Regions from separate parts of the Homo sapiens genome. Here region 1 is linked to region 2. Evidence: promoter capture Hi-C in 16 types of primary human blood cells and fetal thymus (Javierre and others, 2016). All regions are on one chromosome and are shown on one strand. Each heading gives the region's core, a stretch centred on a gene start or on the middle of the fragment in contact. The rest is flanking DNA. Distances are from core to core; before and after follow the strand shown.

The links. Contacts are between HindIII fragments. The CHiCAGO score rates a contact against its expected background, and 5 or more counts as called.
Region 1: a fragment that was not itself captured here is called in contact with the fragment with the promoter of KMO in region 2 in 1 of 17 cell types (monocytes); the score reaches 6.1 in monocytes.

What each region holds. Positions count from the first base shown.
Region 1 is chr1:241,761,535-241,769,161 of GRCh38, reverse strand. It overlaps WDR64 (WD repeat domain 64), which reads right to left. Exons shown (of 28, transcript NM_001367482.1): 16 at 2,811-2,944. Among named protein-coding and RNA genes, the nearest start is that of EXO1, 83 kb to the left of the region's middle. The HindIII fragment of the contact is 1,085 bases long and covers 2,779-3,863 here.
Region 2 is chr1:241,529,241-241,536,922 of GRCh38, reverse strand. KMO (kynurenine 3-monooxygenase) reads right to left here and starts at 4,545. Exons shown (of 15, transcript NM_003679.5): 1 at 4,425-4,545. The coding sequence starts at 4,478. RefSeq lists an enhancer at 4,813-4,962. The HindIII fragment of the contact is 7,761 bases long and covers 985-7,682 here.

The DNA.
Region 1 (7,627 bases), core at 2,072-4,571, 230 kb before region 2:
AGATCAGAGAATGGACTTCTACAAAATCCTATGGAAAAAACTCTATTTTATTTTACTTTTAGAGATGGGGGCCAACTATGTTGCCCAGACTGGTCTTGAACTCCTGGGCTCAAGCGATCCTCCTGCCTCAGCCTCCCAAAGTGCTGGGATTACTGATGGGAGCCACCACGCCGGGCTGGTTTCATACAGTTTAAATAATAGAGTTCTAATATTTTTTAAATAAGTGGAGTAATAAATTTGAATAAAATATTATTACCCTTAAAGAGCTTATAATGGAGTGGAGAAGAACAGGTAGTCCAGTGAGGACCCTGCTCTTGCTGCTCCAGTCTCCTGTTGACCCAGATTCCAAGGTCAACACTGAACTTTGTAGGCACCATCCTAGGAACAGGGGAATAGTCCCTAAATGCCTGCACTGAAACATCATGCCTGGCTCTTAAAGCTGCATTTAACATTCATTATAGCAAATAGACCTTACAGCAAAATTTCCCCTGTTTCTTCAGTGGAAATTACTTCTGCAAGAGATGAAGGGGCCTCCTGGAAAGTGAACCCAAGCTCAAAAGAGAAGTCTACAAGCTTGATGACTTGTTGAACTCAAATTTTTTAAGAGATTTCTGTTGTGCAGATGAGCTGAATCATGAAGTGGATTATTAATTAGCAAGAATAATATTAAGTCTGGGCTCAAAAAGCCTGAGGCTTAGAGTGGGAAGAGAAGAGTTATTTCCTCTGACTGGTGAAGGGGTCTTAGGTGAAGTTTGTGGTAGACAAAGAGATGGACTCTACTGCAAATATGGAAACCATTTTCAGTTTCAGAACTTTTAAACCTGGGCCTAAATGACCTTCCACAGATCTGTGCTAAATCATATGTTTTGCAAAATACTGCACTGATTATAAATCAATTGTCTTATATAATCATCTGCCTATAGGAAAGGGACACTGTGTATGACCCACACTATACTTGGTTGTTTTCCTCTGATTGGATGTTGGATATGCATGCATCCCTTGGCAAAATAACAAGGCACTTTAACAAGGAGGATCTTCACCTTTAAAGTGGGATTATTATCACGGGTGTTGCCCCCCTCTTTAGGCTGTGGCATCAAGATAATGGTCTTCTTAGTCTATCTGATTTCCCTTCTTAGGAAAGAGTCATACACAAGCTGACACAGCGTGAAAGCATTAGCAAGAAGGAGGGGAAGTTTGCAGTGCAGACAGGTGTAGGTATCAAGTGGCAGGTAGACAATGTGTGAGAAAAGGCTGGGGGCATGGGCTGAAGTGAAGGAACAGAAGGATGACAGGAATTCCAGGGGCAGGATCCAGGAGTATGTGGACTGAGGTGCAGAAAGGGGGGTCTGCAGAAACAGCTATTTCAATTAAAGGTTCAAAGAGAAGAAATCCATAGTCCAAGCAATAAATGATTATTTCCTTTCAAAAACTGGCTAAAAGAAATGACTCAGGCTTGGATGGGAAGGAGCAGGCAGACCAGCAGTATGTTAAGAAGTGTAAAGAGAGAGGCAGACATTTCTTTTGTATTTTCCTCTCCTTTTCTCCTGTCCTTTCCAATTCTCCCTTCTCTCCTCTTTTATATCTCTTCCCGTCCCCCAAATGCTTAGATAAACTTGATTTTATTTTCATTTATTATTAAGGTTCTTGGCCATCTTGTATCTGTAAGTAAAATTTTCCAAACCCCCTTGCCATAGGGTGGCCACACATGGCCCTTGCACACGTTCCAATTACACAGCTGGGGAGAACTTATTACTTACAATCCATCCAAACAAATCATTCAGTGTTACTTTAGTTCCTTCTCAACAAATGCAAAAAAAAAAAAACATTGAGAAGTGGATGGTATGGGGAGGGTAAGATCTTGGCCATAGTCCAGGGTAAATCTAATTGGTTGAGAGGAATAATTGCATCTACAACATTGGCCCTTGTTAGCCCCAATCTGTAATAAATCAGACGTGTTGAGGTGGTGAATGAGAAGGATATGCTACCCAGGAGTCTTCTCACCATGTGACTTTGGTGGCTGAGTAGATGGTGGTGGCACTGGGGATACAGGAAGGGGAGAAGTTTGGGAGCGGGGAGTAGGTTGGGAAGATGTTTCAGGCATGTAGGGCTTTGAGGGTCTTGGTAACAATCAGATGAAAATTGCCAATAGGCAATTGGTTATGTGTGTTTGAAGCTCTAGAGAGATTAGTTTGAAGTTGTTATGTATTTTAATTATTTGTTGAGGTCATAAATTTGGGCAAGATCACACATGAAAAGCATATACTAGTTGAGAATAGTAAAGATCAAAGCTCTTGGGAATATAGATGCTTACAGTTCACCTTACTTATATCATCCTGGGATTTAGACACTTAGAACACAGTCCATTCATGAATATAACTTCCAGGAACGCCTGCCTTGAAAGTTATCACCATTTTTATGTATTGCTTTTTTGTCCCCTGAGGTTTTTTTTTTTTTTTTTATACTGAGTTTCACTCACTCTGTCACCCAGGATGTAGTGCGGTGGTGTGATCTCAGCTCACTGCTACCTCCACCTCCCAGGTTCAAGCAATTCTCATGCCTCACCCTCTCCATTAGATAGGATTACAGGCAGGCGCCACTGCGCCCTGCTACTTTTTGTATTTTTAGTAGAGACAGGGTTTCACCATGTTGGTAAGGCTGATCTCGAACTCCTGGCCTTAAGTGATCCTCCTCCCAAAGTTCTGGGTTTACAGACCTGAGCCACCGCGCCCAGCCCTTCCCTGAGTGTTGCATGCTACTGAGCCCTTCTGCAGTAAAGCTTTTACATTGTTTAAGGATAATACACAACTTACACTTTTTTGACAGTAGACGTCACAAAATTCCATAAGATGATCACACCATTTAAGGTTCCAGCTGCTATCAAATTATATCCTTCTACTTGTAGTAAATCAATGCAGTTCACTCGTAATAAATCCATGGTGGGATTCTGAAGAACGAAGGAAACAGAACACCATAAATATAGTATTCATGATTCGCGGTGCAAACGCCATGTGTACACTTTGTAATTGTCATCAACTTAAAACAAAATGCCTTATTATATATATTTTTAATATCAGAGCATGAAATTTAGTAAAATCTTATTTTTCTTGCACTAAAATTTTTAACTGGCAGAATTCATTAGATCAACAAATATATACTCTTCCTGTTTACTGGCTGCTTTTTCTCAGCCTTATTTATTCTTTCTTCCCAACTTTCTTCCCGTCTTCCTCTTCCCTTCAAACTTGTTGAAAGAATATTCTACGTTCGTCGTTTCCACTTACCAACTTTTCTTTCACTCAGCAAATTTCATTGGCTTCTGCTTCATAACACCCTGTGATAGCTATTTATCATTAAGATCTTTTTCAATTGTCTTGCCTCAAATATTTGTTAGATATCTACTATGTTAGATATTTGGAATACAAAGTCAAGTAGGACATCTGTGATCTGGAGAAACATAATACTTTAAAGTACTCAAAGTGTTGATTACAGTGCAATGTGAAAGTGCTGTATCGGAGGGAGGCACGCATGTAACTTGACAGGATCATAGAAGAGTGACATTTAAATAAGAGGAGAGGTCTATTACCACTGTCAATTACCACTCTCAGTTGCTCTCCCCTTCCTGAAACTCCTTACTCTCCTGACGTCCTTGACTCCAGGCTTTGCTGGTTTTGCTGTGTCTCTGCGACTTTTCTTTTTCTGTTTCCTACTTGGTACCCTCTTGCTCTGCCAGTCTTTTAAATATTAATATTTTTGGGGTTTATCTCAAATACATTTTTTTTCAACTGTTTCTGAGGAATCTCAGATTATGTTTCAAATATCTCAATGCTAGTGACCTAATTATCTAGTCCAGTCCTCTCCTACAAGCTTCAGGCTTATATATTTAATTACTTAGACATTTTACAGGTATCTCAATGTTAATATATGTAACTTATCACCTCCTTTAGGCATGTTTCTTTGCTCTATTCTTTTTTTTTTTTCAGAGACAGATCTCCCTCTGTTGCCCAGACTGGAGTACAGTGGAATGATCACAGCTTACTGCAGCCTCGACTTCCTGGGCTCAAGCGATCCTCCCACCTTGGGCTCTGGAGTAGCTGGGACCACAGGTGGGTGCTACCATGCCTGGCTAATGTTTTGATTTTTTTTGTAGAGACAAGGTCTCACTATGTTGCCAGGCTGGTCTCAAATTCCTGAGCTCAAGTAATCCACCTACTTCAGCCTCCCAAAGTTCTGGGATTATAGGCATGAGCCATAGTGCCCAGTCCTCTATTCTTTATTTCATTGGTTAGCGCTATTTTTCAGTTCATCATTCAAGTTAGAAATCCTGGAACTGTCCTTCTTTCCTTCCTTTCTTTCAGTGCCCTCCTCTCCCAACTGCATGGTGTAATTGCAAGTTATGCTACTTTTACTGCCTAGATATTTTCTGAAACCAGAACATTTTCTTCTGCACCATCTCCATTGTCATGACCTTATATCTTTTATTATTTTATCATTGTAAATTTCTTTAGAGACAGAATCTTGATCTGTCACTCAAGCTGGTCTGCAGTGGTGCAATCATAGCTCACTACAACCTCGAACTCCTGGGCTCAAGCACTCCTCCCACCACAGCCTCCCAAATAGCTTGACTGAAGGTGCACGCCGCTGCACCCAAATAATTTTTTTAAATTTTTAAAAATTTTTTTGTAGAGATGGGGCCTATGTTGCCCAGGCTGGCCTCGAACTCCTGGCCTCAAGTGATCCTCTCACCTTGGCCTCCCAAAATGCTGAGATTACAGGTGTGAGCCACTGAGCCTGGTCATCCTTATATCTTTTAACTAAAACAGGAAGTAGCCTGTTGCCTGAATCTTCTGCCTTTAGTCCTGTCCCTGTCAAATCTGTCATCCAGGCAGCATCAAAGATGAGCTGCCCACAGCACAAATCTGATCGTGTCATTTCTCATTTAAAGCCCTTCCATGGCCTTCCATTTGTTATAGGATGCTCAAGCTCCTTATTCTTGTAAGCATGGTCTGGTCCCTACCTATTTGTTTGTCTTCATTTTTAACTACTCCCAGTATTACTCCAGCCACACTGAGATACTTGTAGTTATCCTTCACAAACCATGCAATATTTTACCTCCATTATTTCGTTCACATTACCTCTTCCACTTGAGATTCACTGTCTTTTCACTATCCTCTAGAAACTGCCTATCTGAGCCAAGCTAACTCCTGATAGTTCTTTAGCTATAATTCAGCAATTATCCTCTTCAAAAACCTCCCCGTCTCCCCAGCCCTCCAGGATCTCTGCTGTACTTCTACAGTGCAGGTACTATACCTCATTAATCTTGACATTCCCAGTGCTAAGAACAGTGCATGATACGGTGGCAGGTATTCAATAAAAAGTGCTTCTAAATAAAAGAGTTTTAGGGAGAGGATTTCCATGCACAATCAAATTTTTTTCCTAATTGACTTTTGCAAACTTTTCTTTGAGACTGAGTCTTGCTCTGTTGCCAAGGCTGGAGTGCAATGGCATGATCTCAGCTCACTGCATCCTCCACCTTCCAGGTTCAAGTGATTCTCATGCCTCAGCCTCCCCCGTAGCTAGGATTACAGGCGTACGCCACCATACCTGGCTAACTTTTGTATTTTTATTAAGGATGAGGTTTCGCTGGCCAGGCTGGTCTGGAACTCCTGACCTCAAGTTATCTGCCCGCCTTGGCCTCCCAAAGTGCCGGGATTACAGGTGTGAGCCACTGTGCCTGGCCGACTTTTGCAAACTTTCAATCTATAATTTTAAAGTCTGTTGCAAAAAGGAAGTGCTATAATGATAATTATGATAACTACAAAAAATAAAGATTCAAAATTGGAGATAATTTACATTTACATTAAAAGCCTACAAGGCACTTTATTGTGTTTCAATAGTTTATAATTTATCACCATAGTTTTTCTTTTTTTTTTAAGCAATCATTTTTTGGTACCTACACAATTATTTGTTAACTGCCTGGTTCTGACTCACTGTGCAGTCATCTTCTTTCTGTTTTTATTAGCTATAAATAAGATTTCATATATCAAATACATATAATTGAACCTAGTGTTTCCAATTATATGTAGAGTTGAAAAGGGAAGTAGGCTAGAATTGGTCTACGAGGACATGCATTTTGTTCTGTCTTTTGTGCATATTACATGATAACGTTATTATGACATAGTCACTGTGTATATTGATTTTAAAGGGCTTTTAGCTAAGAATAAAACCTACTTATCATTTAAACTAGCAATGAATGACATTCAAATTGCAGTTCCAAACTGACATTTGTTTCAATATGAGGAAAACTAATACAGTATGTTTCCGTTCTATGACAAAATAATTGTTTCCAAATTCCATAAACCAGCTATATTATTATTCTATTTTTTTTTTTTTGCAAGGAAGCTTTATGGTTAATAATAATAAAAAAGGAAATAAATTATATTATGGTTGTTTTGCTAATGTCAGGGAGAAAAAAACTGAAGACTTTTCTCAATTGCTCCTGCTGTAACTTGCAGTTTTCTTCCATTCTTTAGTGTCTGACCACTTATCTCTCTAAAAGCTGAAAAGTGCAAAAGGTTTGATTAGAGTACTATAATATTAGAGTAAATCAAAAAAGTTAGTGAAGATCCTCGTTAAAAAAACAATTGGTTTAAATTTTTATGGGAACAAAAAGGTACAGTTTTCTTATTCTCTATTCTTCAGCCTCAAACATATGCCCCAAACACTTCATCCCTCAGACATGCACACATGCGCCTGCCTTGTTGAGGAGGTGTAAGCATATCACAAAAATAGCTTTCTGAAGAGATGTTAAATTAAGTTGTTGAATTCAACATATACAGCTACTTTACTCAGAAAAAAAAAAGATTCCTTTCAAAATATTACTGCTCATTGAAAATGCACCCAGGAGCTCTGATGGAGATGTACAACGTGAATGTTGTTTTCATGCCGGTGAATACAGTATTCCTTCTGCAGCCCGTGGATCAAGGGGAAATTTTGACCTTCAAGTCTTATTATTTAAGAAATACATTTTGTAAGGCTATAGCTGCCATAGATAGTGGTTCCTATGATAAATCTGGTTGCTCAAAGTAAATTGAAAACTTTCCAGAAAGAATTCACTATTCTAGATGCCATTAAGACATTTGTGATTCATGGGAGGAGGTCAAAATAGCAACATGGACAGGAATTTGGAAGAAGAGGATTCTAACCCTCAAAGATATTTGGAAGGGTTCAAGACTTCAGTGGAGAAAGTGACTGAAGATGTAGAAATAGCAAGAGAACTAGAATTAGAAGCGAAGCGTAACTTGCTGCAATCTCACGATAAAACTTGAATGGATGAGGAGTTGCTTCTCATGGATGAGCAAAGAAAGTTGTTTCTTGAGATGGAATCTGCTGTGAACATTGCTGAAATGACAACAAAGGACTTAGGATATTACCTAAACTTAGATGATTGGGCAGAGGCAGGGTTTAAGAGAATTAACACCAATTTTTGAAAGAAATTTTACTGTGGGTAAAATGCTATCAGCATCACATGCTACCGAGAAATTTTTCAAAAAGGACTAATATCCATAATATATCTTCCTAATTATCTATATATACATATATATATATTTCTAATGTATCTAATATACAACAA
Region 2 (7,682 bases), core at 3,296-5,795:
GTGAGACATAAACTCTCATAGAGTCAAGGTCAAGTTGCCTCAAAAGCAATTTCATCAGCAGAGGCCACTGACTTGACTTGAATTCCAGGGGGCAGGGCACAATTATCAACAATAAGTCAAAATACGTACAAATCTCCTCACCCTCTAAATACTACTAAATGGAGAACTTTCCTGGGTCAAACATAGGGAGAGTAGATCACAAAGCTCTCTACAGTGGGGTTTCTTTTTTGCAGAAAGGAACAGAAGAAATATTTGAATGATATCCTAAAATACATCTCCAAAATACATGCTAGAATAGTGGACATACATTGCAACAGCAGGAGTCAGCTGAGACTGGAATGCTTAATAGCCCTCTTACCAAGGCTCTTGGCTTCAGTCAAAAAATGGTGTCTTGAGTAGCTTTAGCTGTCACTGAAATGGTGCCTTTTTGCTCTGATCACTTTCGTCATACCTGTAAACACTGAAAACAGTTATCAAAAGCAGTATTTTCTGAGTCTTAAGGACTGAATTCAGATGTGGATTAAGGACACTTGTTTAGCTTAGATGGCCTTTGTTTACTTCTCTGGCTTGTCTACTTCTCTCTCACTTCATAAAGAAAAGAAAACATATCACTCTAACATGAAGTAAGGCAGTTTGTATGGCAGTTTTTTTGTAATGCAGGTTTTTTTTGAAATGATGTGCTAGAATTGAAAAGCTACACTGTAGAACTCCTTCCAGCATGCAAAATTGAGATTATTTTCCAAATCCTTTTTTAAGTTACTCATTGAAAGGACTACATTCCTCATGACATAATTGTGTTAAAAAAAAAACTCTTTAAAAATTTCCCATAACTTCTAAAGGAGTGATTCTCCACTTTGTTCTGAAATCAAACTCATGCACAGAAAATATTTTAGTGTGGCTCACATTATAAGGCACTGGGAAACCTTTATAAAGGTAGCAGGAGCCAAAGATAAAATAATCTTTAGATCTACGAAGTAAAAAGCTTCTATGGGGAATAAACTATGCATAACAAAATTTTAATAGAAGGCAGCATTTGATAATGACAAACAAAGCCCTGTGGGCATTTAAAGAGAGGAGAAGCCTTCACAGGTTGATTGTCCTGCAGTTACCTTCTGGAACTAGCAGGAGGTAATCCCATTGGCTGGAGAAGGGATGGGGGAGTTGTAATTCACACAAGGAGGAAAATATCAGTCAATACAGGGGTCTTTCTAAATATTTAGGTCAATGTTCTTGAAATGCTATTTTAACATCTTTTCCCACTTGTTTTTCAATATTTAAACTTTACCTGGTTTATGATTATGGTTTAGTTTCTTTTACCTTTTGTTTCTCATTAGGAGTTTTTTTACTGGTTTGTTGATCTCTTTGACTGAACATGTCTTCAAAGAAAGGAAATCAACTGGTTTAACCCAATATCAGATGATCACTACATCAGAGCAAGAATAACTTCTCAGGGTGACTTTTCATTAGGCAAGTTTACTAGACATGGTAAGCTACCACTGATAAGAATTGAGGGAAGTTCACTATATTTTTTGGATGTCTAAGTAAAGGTTCTCAACTCTCATTTTTTTTTCTAGGGGCCAGGGGAGAGCCTTTAATGTGTTAGACAGTATAAGGTACTGGGATATGGTTTATGGAAAGGAGGAGGTAGGAAGGGAGGGTGGAAAAAAAAACAGAAGAAGATGGGCAAAAATGTAATCTTGTCCTCTATGTAAAGACATTAACCTTCTTGAATTGCTCTATTTAGTCAATACTTTTAAAAATAATTTTCTCAATATTCAAACATGCATCTGTTATTATTTTTTCACCTTTATATCATTAAGTTTTCTCATTCCTCTCATTTATTCATCCACCCAATACATAATGTTAGGCATAATTACAGCCTCTGGAATACATTGGTTAATAAGAGTTTATATCCTAGTTGGAGTAGATATCTAAGAAACAGGTTAAAAAAAAAAACCCAAAGTGTGTAATTTCCGATACTGGTAGATAAGATTAACAAATAAAAAGGGAAAGGGGTGAAGCCAGAAAGGCAGATAGGCTTAGTTCAGACAAGACCTTTGGTAAAGAGTTTGGGTTTTATTTTATTTGTAATGGGAGATCATTGGAAGATTTTAAGCAGGGGATGATAATGATCAGACTCATGTTTTAGAAGGGTGTTTCTGGCTGTGGTGTGTAGTATGGACTATAAGGGAAAAGGAGTTAAAGCTGGGAGACTAATTTGGAGCTTGTTGCAGGAATAAGGATGGCGGATGATAATGGCTTGGGCCAGGATGGTTGTAATGGCTAGAATTTAAATGTATTTTGGATATAGAGCCTCAAGGCTTACTGATGGAGTGAAAGAAGAATAAGCGTTTGCACAAAATGACAATAGGAATCAAACATGATGCGTAAGCATGGACTTGAACAATAGGATGGATAGAATTCTTTTGCAGAGGAATTTTAGTTGCTCCCTAATACGCAAGTAGTAATTTTTGTCTCCTATTTTCCAGCATATGTATGACGTGGTTACATGATGACAATCTCATGTTATTCAGGGAGAAATCCATGGATGACACCCACATTTTTATGCCCCCCAAAACCATATATACAATCACATATTTGTTATCTCTCCCTTGGATTTCTAAGAGACAATTTTTAAAATGAGACATCACTGCTGCCACCTTAGTCCAAGTCTTGAGCTAACGTAACAGCCTCCTAACTGGTCTATCTTGTCATCTTAAAATGTTCCTAGTCATTCTCCACATAATGGTCCAAGGGACCTTTTAAAATCACAACTTAATTTCCTGCCTAAAATCCTCCAATAGTTTCCCATTGTAATTTGAACAAAATCTGATCTTCTTGCCTGGACCTCTAAGATCCTACAAGATCTGGTCTGTCAGCTTTTCTGGCCTCATCAGCTACTCTTCTCTGGCCTCAGGCAGTTCCTGCCTTTCTTTCTGCTCCTTGAACTTGGGCAGCTCATTATTGCCTGAGGGTTTCTCTTCCTGCTGTTCCCTCTGCCTGAAATGCTCTTTCTCAAGATCTTCACGTAGTTAGTTCTATCTGATCATTCAGGTCTCTGGTCACATGTCCCTTCAGCAGAGCAGCTGTCCCTGACCACATTCTAAACAGGTACTCCCAAAGATACTCTCTACAGCACTACCCTGTTTTCGTTTCTTTCATAGTGCTTCTCTTTAACTGAAATTGTCTTATTTGTTTTCTTCTTCCTTGTCTTTTTCTTCTCTGGAATTCTCACCCTCGCATCCCTACTACCTAAAACAATATTGGTACATAGTAATCAGATTTTGTTGAACACATGAATTCTCATTTTGTGCAACATTTTGATAGGACAGATTGGACACAAGCCTAGTATGAAGCAGTGACGACACATGTCCCAACCAGTGACCAACACATCATGTGATAGCATTTCTAAATGAAAATTTAGAATCAGAAATATTAAAAGAACTGTTCTAGCACTTTGGGGAAAAGACACTAAGGAAGGCAGAACAAAAGACAGCATATACTGTATAAATACATGTGTGGCATAAAATATACCATCTATATTCAGCCTAGAACAGTGTTACGCCCTCAATAAATTTTTTGTTGAGTGGATATATGAATAATTAATGAAAAGTCTCCAAATGATTTGACCAAAGGTGATAGGGAAATGATTTAACCTTGACTAACTGGGATGTTTGTATTCTGAAACAGAAATTCTGCTGAGATGGGAAAAAGCAAAGTTGAATCGGAGCAGACCCATGTTAAACAGAACTACCTTTGGCACCATAACTATGAAAGCAGAGAGTGACCTCTCCTTCCGTCTTGTTAGGTATGGGGGAAGCCCCAGCACCTTTACGTCACGTGCTCAGTGAGAGGTGAACACCTCACTCCACTGTCTTAGGTGCTCCACTGGAAGAGTCAAGTAAGTCAGGCGACCACATAAATCTTATTCCCAATTACTCATATAACTAGTGAACATTCAACATGATACTTTGACGTTAGCTTCATGTTTCTTGACCCTTTTATTCTCATTAGACAGCATTAACTGAGTTATTAAACAAAGCGGAACAAATGTTTTTATTAAAATGAATATTGAGACTAATTCCTGTTCCTAAAAACATAGCCAATTTGGGGATAAAATCAAATTCAATTTGCATTATTTTTGCTTTTTAACAAATCCTAAACCAAAATGATGAGGGAAAACAGAAACCTTTGTATTTAATGGCTATAAAATACCTTTCCTGAAAAAGAACAGATTAAAACTCATACTATATTAAATCTATGAAAATAAAAATATTAAAAAAATAAACAAAATAGCTGTATTTAAATATCAGAGTTTTCACAAGAAAATTAACAATTTGCAGAAGTGACGAATAATAATCATTACGAGTAATAATAGTTAATATAATACCACCAACAATAGTAATCCATCTGAAAATTCTTACCAAGCCACCACCAATGACAGCTACTTTTTTCCTTTGAATGACAGATGAGTCCATAACTGCTGAAGTATTTTTCACAATTATTGTTGCTTCTGTCACTGAGTGACACTGATTTCTGTGTCTCCTACACACTGATTTCTCTGAGTTTTTATACTGCCCCAAGCCTAGTGCATTCATGAGCCAGCGGCAATGTTTAGTCAGGGCTAATTTCCCTTGACAGTATTAACCCATTAGTTGGCCAAAGTACAATCAGCTCAGCTCTAAGAAAAAATAAATCCATTACAATAACCAAATTTTTTAAAAAATCCATCCAATTGGAGACACTCTATTTTTTCTATCTTCTGTGTAAGACACAGAAATTTTTAAGCAGTCTTGTGGCTTTTCTTCTTCTTTTTCTACAGCATATATTCTTAGTTTCGTTTTCATTCATGATTAACCATGAATGGAGCCCTTCTCATCTGAAGTCCAAAAACATCTTATACCTCCCTTAGAGAGTAAGATGACATGGTTTCATAATTCATCTGTGGATCATTTTTGTGGTTAAGACCAATCAAAAATTTCATCTAAAGGGTCCTCATGGATTGTTTTTAACAGGCTCTACCAGGGAAAATTCTCTGCAAGGTCTTAATATTCTCCCGATCAACATTTTGAATTGTGTAACTGACCATACTTCCCCTTTTTTTTTTCAGCCCAGATGCTAGAAAATTTAGAATCTAATTTTAGAATCGAAAATTTAGAGTCTAATTACCACTAGGGGAGATGACTGACACAACGCTTCTGTAAACTCATTCCCGACTTCATATTATCTATTCACTTTTTTGTCTTTTTCACTCCGTTTTAAATGTTATACTTTTGTGCATGATTTGCGAATGGCAATTGTTTTCTGGAACATGATGTGGTGTAATGTAAAATAAGAACATAAATGAAGTTGTTTCTTCACTTCCTGTTAAGCACATAAAGAATTCAGAACGTTTTTTTCCCTGGTTAGGAACTAGAGTTAAATGGCATTCAATAGTGACCCCTTGTGGATAAGCATGATTAGGTATTTTATTTATTTTGAATAGGTAATACATTAACATGGCATGAAATTAAAGACACAAAAGAGTACACGGTGAATAGTAATCCTGCTAACCTTGACCCTTGGCCACCTATTCCTCCTGCCCAAAGACAACAACTGTTTTGGTGTGTGGGTTACCGTATTCTTCTACACGTTGATTATGTCTTTCTTGTTCTTCCTCTCTCTCCTTTTCTCTCTCTCTTTCTCTCACTCTCTCATTCCCTTCCTTCCTTTCTTTTTAAACATACATTTAAAAACTTTTTCCACATCATATTTCTCACTTTACAACATATAGCTTGAGAATTCTTCAATATCAATATGTAGAGAATATGTATCAATTCCTCAGTATCAATATGTATCATTGTTAAAAAATCTTTTAAAAATTATGAACTATAACACAAATGAACAGTATAATAAGTTACTGTAAAGCAAGTATCCATGTAACTACCATTTAGGTGCAGAGAGAGAATATTGCCAGAATCCCAGAAGTCTAACGTGCCCCCTGTTAATCACCCCTCCTTCGTAGAGGTAACTGCCATACCAACTTTCTTTGCTTTTATGTATAATTGTACCATGATAGATGCATCCCTAAAATAGTTTAGTGTTGACTTTTTTGAACTTTCCTATAAATGAACTTATACTGTTTATTTTTTTACAACTTGCTTCTTTTTCTCAATATTATATCTCTTAAGATCCATTTGTGTTGTTGCATGTTTTTCCAGTTCATTCATTTTTATCGTCATTTATTATTTGTCCATTGTGCTGTTGATGGACATTTGGGGTGTTTCCAAATTTTTAATATCATGAATAATGGTGTTGCCATAAACACTCTTGTGTATACAATGTCATGTACATATGTATGAGTATCTCTAGGTTTCATATGCTGTTTATGCTTTTTTGTTTGTTTTTTGTTTTTTGGGTTTTTTTGAGATGGAGTCTCACTCTGTCACCCAGGCTGGAGTGCAATGGTGCAATCTCGGCTCACTGCAACCTCTGCCTCCCAGGTTCAACTGATTCTCCTGCCTCAGCCTCCCGAGTAGCTGGGATTACAGGTGCCTGCTACCACGCCTAGCTAATTTTTGTATTTTTTCAGTAGAGATGGGGTTTCACCATGTTGACTAGGCTGGTCTTGAACTCGGCCTCAAGTGGTCCACCCGCCTCAGCCTCCCAAAGTGCTGGAATTACAGATGTGAGTGACTGCGCCCAGCCATGTTTATGCATATTTTTAACCTTTCTGAATAAACGAAAGTTACATTCCAAAGTAGTGCATTAGCTTTTACTTAACACAATGTGTAAAATTTGTCTTCTGCTGTATCCTCACCAATGTATGTATTGCCAAGAATTTTTAATTTTTGCCAGTCTGGTAGATGTGCTTTATATTTCAGTGTTCTTTTAATTTGCAGTCCTTTGATTATCAGTGAAGTTGAGCACATTTTTACCTGTTCATTCACAACTTCTTTTTCTTCTTCTGTATAGGTAGTGTTAATTTTTGGGGGGGGAGGGTGGGAATTTTTTTTTCCTTTTTTGAGTCCCATTGCATATGAACTTTAGTACTTAGATATGTCACAAATAACATTTCATTCACTCTGTGGCTTGCCTTTTTGCTTTCCTAGTGGTGTCTTTTGATGAAAGAATATTCTTCATTTAATACATTCTTTTCCCTTGTGGTTAGAGTTTTTCATGTCATGTTTTATCACTTTTTTTGTATAATCTTGAGGTCATGAGGATATTCTTCCATGTTGACTTCTAAAATAGTTATAATTTACCTTTCATTTTTAGGTCTATGATCAACATGGAGTTAGTTTTTTTGTTTTTGGAATGCTGTGATATAGATGTCAAAATTTTATTTGTTTTCCAAATGAATACCCAATATTCCCTGTACCAATAAATGAAAAGACTTTCCTTTTCCCGCATTGCCTTTGGTGTAGGTCCAGTGTTCATATATGTGTGGGTCTCGTTCCAGGTTTCTATTCTATTTCATTCCATATAGTCTATACTGCCCATACTATACCTACTAATGCCAGTTCCAAAGCCAAATTACAATAGCTTTAATACAATCCTTAATATCTTCATCAATTCACCCACCTTGTCCTTCATTAATAATGTATTGACTATTCTTGGTGCTTTGTATTTCCATCTGTTTTAGAATCAGCCTGTTAATTCCATTTTAAAAATCCCTAAAATAAAAATATGGTTGGGATTTT